Linked DNA regions of Homo sapiens: region 1 is linked to region 2. Evidence: promoter capture Hi-C in 16 types of primary human blood cells and fetal thymus (Javierre and others, 2016). All regions are on one chromosome and are shown on one strand. The core of a region is centred on a gene start or on the middle of the fragment in contact, and the rest is flanking DNA. Distances in the headings are between cores, read along the strand shown. Region 1 overlaps PMP22 (peripheral myelin protein 22). Region 2 holds the start of ZSWIM7 (zinc finger SWIM-type containing 7).

Region 1 (3,357 bases), core at 108-2,607, 760 kb before region 2:
CTCTTTGCCATAAGTTATTTCTCGAATCAAATCAGAATTAGAGGATCAAGGACATTTTTATTCAATGAGCATTTGTTGAATACCTACTGCTTTGAGCCAAGCCCTCTGGTTGACTCTGATGATCCAGAGATGAAGAAGATGGTTTTCAACCATAAGCACAATAAATAAAACACATGCATTAAGATAGTAAGTCTATCATCAACCACATTATATGTGAATGGGTTCAAGGCACTCATAAGATATGGAATTTTATCTTTGATTAAGACATTTTGGGAGGCTGAGGCAGGTAGATCACTTGAGGCCAGGAGTTCAAGACCAGCCTGGCCAACATGCCAAAACCCCATCTCTACGAAAAATACAAAAAAATTGGCCAGGTGTGCTGGTGGACACCTATAGTCCCAGCTACTTGGGAGGTTGAGGCAGAGAATCGCTTGAACTCAGGAGGTGGAGGTTGTAGTGAGCCAAGATCACACCACTGCACTCCAGCCTGGGCACAGAGAGAGACTCTGTCTCAAAAAAAAAAAAAAAAAAAAAAAAGAGAGACATTGTAGCTATATTCTAATATAATAGATACACCTAAAACAAGCAACAGTCAAAAACAAAAAAGATTCTGAAAAGAAGCTTCAGGCAAATGTTAACAAAAAAGAAAGAAGATAAATTAATAATAAAAAATAGAACTTATGTTGAAAGGATAAAAGTGGCCAGAGAGTTGTTTGGTTGTTTCATAGAGGAAAGATTTGGTTTATTTGATCTTTACTTCTGGTTTACATGATCTATGACTGAAGAAAATAAATCATTATGCATATAATAACATGGCCTGAAAAAGTTAAAATCAAAAAGTAATCAAAATATGAGAAGAAATTGTTAAAATCACAATAACAGTAGAAGACTTTAGCTTCCTTCCTCAAAATAGATGTCAGGTAGACCAAAAAGAAGAAAGAATATAGATTACATAAGAGGATTAACAAATCTGTCCTAATAGATGTATAGAAAACTTGTGTCTATATAGCAAAGTTATTTTCAAACACACATGGGACAGCTTTTCAAACTGACTATAAGGGCAACAAAGAATATCTCAATAAATATAGAAGCAGAAATGATGTAGGCTCAACATATACCTAAAGGCAAACAGAAATTAGACATTAAAAACAAACTAGCCAAAATAAATTTGGAAATTTAAAAACAGTGTTCCAGATAATTCCTCGGATTAAAAAAAACAAGATGAAAAGTAAAAACTTCTTCAGCAAGGAATTATATAGAGAGCCACATGGCACACCTGTGGGTTGTAACCAAAGCAGTTCTCAGAGGACAATGTATACACTTCTAAGCATTTGCTAGAAAAATCCTTAAAAAGAGTGAACTACACTTTCAACTCAAGAAGCCAGAAAAAAAACAATGAAATAAGTCCAAAAATTAATTGACTTAATATGGATAAAAGCACAGACTAATGAGACAGAAAAAAATATTAAAATACATTTAATAAAAATGTCTGGTTCTTTGGGGATACATCAACAAGTTAGACAAATTTTATTCAAGTACATAAAAGAAGTACTAAAGAAACATACTAAGTTCCTGGATAGAAACACTCAAAGTTATAAAGATGCCAATTTCATCCAAAATAATCTACAAATTCAATGCTGTCCTAATCCATATTGCAACTGGAACTGGAAAAAAATCAATTAAAAATTCATCTAAAAAACAATGAGCAATGACAGATAAGAAAAAATTTGAAGTAAACACAACAGCAACTAAAAACCAAAACGAACAAATGAACAAAAAGAAAATCAGAAAAACATATAAAACCAATGAGTCAAGATACCACCTACCAGATTTAAAACATATTTCTATATTTTGCTTATTACAGTATATGGTATAAATTAAATATACAATTAATTGTAACTTTATAATATATAATTATAGAACATATCATAGAACTATGATATATACAATATATAATTATAGAACATATCATAGAAGTATGATATATAATTATATAATATATAATTATAGAAGTATATATGTTCAAGTGCTTATATTATAATTATATAACATATAATTATAATTAATAAAATGTATTTTATTTATAGACATACAAAGCTTATATTTATATTATAAAGTTTTAGCAATTCAAAAATATGGTGTTAATCATGAAAGAAAAATAAAAGAATGGGATGGAATAAGACTTTGGAAGCATACATGTAAATTTGGTAGATAATACACAACATCATATAAACCAGTGGGGAAAAATACAACAGACAATACATAGTGTTGGCTATTCATTTGGTAAAACATAAAATTAAATCTCTAGTTCGCATCATTAACAAAATTAAATTACAGACAGAACAAAGAGAAAACAGCTAAGTATAAAATTGAAAAGCCATGTGATTAGCAAAGGAGAAATATGAACAGCCAATAAACATCGTAAAAGGTGCCCAACCTCACTAGCAACCAAGGAAATGCAAGAGAAACCCATGAGGAGGGTGACACCAATTTTCATCCAGCCAATAGGCAAAATTCAAAAAAAATGGATAATATCAGCAGAACAAATAAGTGATAGCTACCTGCAGACACCATTCACAGGAATAATAATAATATTATTATTATAATCCTTTTGTGACCAGCCATTTTGTGGCAGAATATATTAGGTTGATACAAAAGTAATTGTAATTTTTGCCATTAAAAGTAGTTTAAAAATTGTAACACCTCTAGCGTAATGACACTATATGTGTTCAAGTGCTTATCTACTATATCCTGGAAAAACAGTGAACATATACTCAGAGGAAAATAAATAAGGACATTGATTGTAGCATTTCTATGAGGGAAAATAAATTATGGTATATCCTCACAATGAAATATTTTGCAGCAGTTAAAAAAATCATGAGTTAGAAAATGAAGAGTCTTTGAAAGGTCTCCAAGACAATGAAAAGAGTAAGGTGCACACACAACATGTCATCATTATGAAAACAAACACCAAAAAACTATGTAATTGCGTATAGACATCCACAGGCATGCAAATATTCGTAGAGAAAGAGCCAAAGTTGTGTCAAATTGATGTCAGTGGGTTCCCCCAGGAACTACTGTTGCAACGAAGAAGAGTTTGGTCAAGAAGCCTTTCAGTTGAGGATATTTTCATGTATTATAATACTTGTATTACTTAAATAATTAAAACCAATTTAAAAGATTACAAAGGTAAAAACAGATGCAGCACTCTATTGACTTACTAAGAGTCAGGATTCCAAAACTCAAAGGGCTAGTGGAATTCTGGGCAGGACTGGGCTTCCACATGCCCAGGAAAACAACAAGGGATTTTCCTTTCCTCCAGTGCCATTGATCAAAAGCTACACAAGGACAGCGAGA
Region 2 (3,635 bases), core at 710-3,209:
GGCAATGATTATGCCCCCTTCAGGACTGTCAATGTGTCTTGTGAACCTTCTTGTTGGAGGGAAAAAACCCAAAACTGGCTGGGCACGGTGGCTCACGCCTGTAATCCCAGCATTTTGGGAGGCTGAGGTGTCCGTATCACAAGGTCAGGAGTTTGAGACCAGCCTGGCCAATATGGTGAAACCCCGTCTCTTCTAAAAATACACAAATTAGCCGGGTGTGGTGGCATGCGCCTGTAGTCACAGCTACTTGGGAGGCTGAGGCAGGAGAATCACTTGAACTTGGGAAGCGGAGGTTGCACTGAGCTGAGATCGCCCATTGCACTCCAGCCTGGGAGACAGAGCAAGACTCTGTCTAAAAAAAAAAAACAAACCAACCCAAACTACTGTCAGTGTATGGATTAACCTATTCAGACACAGAACAGTTCTGGCGATTATTGTTTAAAGTGACAGCATTCCAAACCCTCAGGCCATCAAATCTGAGAGCCCAGAACAATTGTATAAGCTAACATCAGTTGGCTTTTTTCCCATCCTTTTTGGAAACAAGTATGTTTGAATACTTGGCTGCACTAATCTTTCAAGCACATATACTTAAGTCTCCTTAATTTTGACTGAGATGAGGAAACAAAGTTGGCTTATTTTTCTCAGTTCCTTAAAAACAGTAACTCAAGATAAACCCTTTCAAAATGCAGTACAGTACTTTTAAAACAAAAGCCATCCAAGTTGAATAAGCGATGGCAGTTTGGGGGCCTGATATGGCTGTTATTTATAAGGTGGCCATTTTTACATCCTAAGAGTAGTTCATTAGTCAATGCATTTTGAGTATATCAAATTTGATTTGATCTTATCCTAGCATACTCTGAACACATCTTGAGATCAACCCTTCTCAAGTGATTTTGGTGAGCATAGCCAAAGAGTACCCTCTGCTGGTCAGAAAAAAAATGGTGCTTTCACAATACCCAGATTTACTCCAACGATTGCATATGCATTTAGGTTTTGTGGCTCTTAAAATGCTTTTTTTTTTTTTTTTGAGATGGAATTTCGCTCTTGTTGCCCAGGCTGGAGTGCAATGGCGCGATCTCGGCTCACGGCAACCTCCGCCTCCCGGGTTCAAGCGATTCTCCTGCCTCAGCCTCCTGAGTAGCTGGAATTACAGGCGCCCGCCACCACGCCCAGCTAATTTTTTGTATTTTTAGTAGAGACGAAGTTTCACCATGTTGGCCAGGCTGGTCTCGAACTCCTGACCTTAGGTAATCCAACTGCCTCGGCCTCCCAAAGTGCTGGGATTACGGGAGTGAGCCACTGCGCTGGGCCTACTTTTTAAAGTGTATGGAAGCATTAACTTTAATGTTAACATCAGAATTTGAGAAAAAGAAGTTTAATAATTCAAAATTTCGTGTAAAATAATCAAGAACTCCACGTTTCTATCACTCACTGTAGGCTCCCGTCCCTTCCACCCCCGGGCGGGGACCCCTCCCAGCGACCCGGCCAGCTCTCAGCACTTCGGTCCCCACTGGCCTACTCGCTCCGACGGAGGGGCTCCTGCAACTGCGCTGTACCGTAAATATTTGCTGAATCGATTTGACTTTTACTTGTTCCAATTTCGCTTTTTTGTTGTTTTGTTTTTTTGTCTTTTTACGAACAAGAGGTTTAGAGAACCACATGGAAAAAAGGCAGGGCCAGGCCCGGACACCCCGCCTCCTGCCTCCCGGCCCGGCGGTGCCCGGATGCCCCGCCCGCGCCCATGGCGCAGCCACACACGACCTCGGTCCCGTACTTCGCGCGCTCTCCTGCACCGCCGCCGCCATCTCGCTCAGGAGCTCCTCCACAACCGCCGGCAACACTACGGCCATCGCGCCGCAGGACACGCCCTCCACGACCGGCGGACCGCCGCGACGCTCCAGCTGACTGCGCCTACCTGTGGAGGATCCTGACCCCCCGCCGGGGCAGGGCGAGACGGAGTGACGTCGGGGCGCGTCATCGCGCGTGCGGACGCAGGGATGTCCTGCTCAGTCGTCAGGGCCCGGCCAATCCGGAGGGCGCTCGGCGCGTGGTCGGGGGCCAGGAGCGCGTCTGGCCTGCAGTGCGCAGAGGACGCGGCGGGAGCATGTTCCGGCTCCTGAGCTGGAGCCTGGGCCGAGGCTTCCTGCGGGCCGCGGGGCGGCGGTGCCGGGGCTGCTCCGCGCGCCTGCTCCCGGGGCTGGCAGGAGGTCCGGGGCCCGAGGTGCAGGTGCCGCCATCCCGAGTCGCGCCGCACGGCCGGGGCCCAGGCCTGCTGCCGCTGCTGGCAGGTGAGGGGCGCGGGCCGGGCGGGGCCGGCCGGGCGGGGACAGGGGCGCGGGCCGGGCCCGATGACCTCAGAGCCCCTTCCCGCAGCGCTCGCCTGGTTCTCGAGGCCCGCTGCGGCAGAGGAGGAGGAGCAGCAGGGAGCCGACGGGGCCGCTGCCGAGGACGGGGCGGACGAGGCCGAGGCAGAGATCATCCAGCTGCTGAAGCGAGCCAAGGTGAGGCGGCTCCGGGCCCTGCGCCCGGCCGAGCGCGGTAGCCTTTGTGAGCGGGGTCTTGGCGTTGCTGCGCATTACTCTCTCCGCCTCGCCGAAGAGTGGATGGAGGCTCCGCGGGTAAAATTGCCGAGAATGAGGTGGGTCATCCGAGAGGGGATTGGAATCCATCCAGGCTTTTCCGACTCTAAGGCCTGCAGTAAAACCTCTGCAGTGTCAAGTGCAAATGGAGATGGCGCCCTAGGCATCACGCTTTATGCAAACGAAATATCGGGAACGTTTTGTAGTGGTTTTATCAATTAACCAGCCTATCTGAAATGACATAATTTCGCACGTATATAGCGGCCTGAAAATGGCAACTTAGTGTTGGTTATGCGGTTCGGTTCTCCTCCTGAATTCTTCCTTTTCTCCACATCCTTTTCTATTTTTTTTTCCTCCTCTTTTCCCAAGTTATCTCATCTCTTCCATTGAGCTAAATACCTACTCGATGCCAACAACGTCCAAATTTGTATTTCCATTCTGTAGTGTGCTACTGACATGCCATTTGCACTTTAGGACCATACCTACCTCTCAGATTTAACATGCCCAAAACTAAACGATCTTTAATGCCTCCTCAACATACGCTTTCGCCATCTCTTTACTACCATCAGTTTTTCAGCCTAAAAACCTCATAGTCATTCTTAAAACTTGTGGTACCTTACCATTGCCTTCCAATACACTTACAGTCCAGCAACAAGTCCTGTTGCCAACAAATGCAAAATATTTCTCAAATCTTTCCCCTTTTGTCTATCTCCCTTGCTGTCACCCTAGTGCAAACCATCATTGCCACCAACTATGCTCCAGTAGTCTTTCCTGGCCTCCTGGCCTCTTGCAATCTATTCTCCATGCAGAAACCAAAGCGACCAAAAAAAAAAAGAGTAAATTGGATTATGTCATCTCCTTGTCAGAAAGCTCTGAATGGCTACCCACTGCATTTATGATAAAATACAAACTCCTTGCCTTGGCTTGCAACACCCCACATGATCTAAACCAGCATATACCTTGCCCACCCATTTGGCAGTAATCCTCTGGCTCACCATCCTCCCTTCACATCTATTTCTTTGCATTTCTTCCTCAAAACCATTCTCTTCAGCTTGT

Evidence for each region. Contacts are between HindIII fragments. The CHiCAGO score rates a contact against its expected background, and 5 or more counts as called.
Region 1: a contact is called between a fragment that was not itself captured here and the fragment with the promoter of ZSWIM7 in region 2, in 1 of 17 cell types (erythroblasts). The highest score is 6.5, in erythroblasts.

Annotation. Positions count from the first base shown.
Region 1 is chr17:15,241,739-15,245,095 of GRCh38, forward strand. All of the region lies in intron 3 of PMP22 (peripheral myelin protein 22), which reads right to left. Among named protein-coding and RNA genes, the nearest start is that of MIR4731, 8.3 kb to the right of the region's middle. The HindIII fragment of the contact is 1,476 bases long and covers 620-2,095 here.
Region 2 is chr17:15,997,745-16,001,379 of GRCh38, forward strand. It overlaps ZSWIM7 (zinc finger SWIM-type containing 7), which reads right to left and starts at 1,960. Exons shown (of 5, transcript NM_001042697.2): 1 at 1,775-1,960. The coding sequence starts at 1,850. It overlaps TTC19 (tetratricopeptide repeat domain 19), which reads left to right and starts at 2,080. Exons shown (of 10, transcript NM_017775.4): 1 at 2,080-2,288; 2 at 2,374-2,501. The coding sequence starts at 2,105. RefSeq lists silencers at 1,534-1,693, 2,044-2,433 and an enhancer at 1,834-1,923. The HindIII fragment of the contact is 18,071 bases long and covers 1-3,635 here.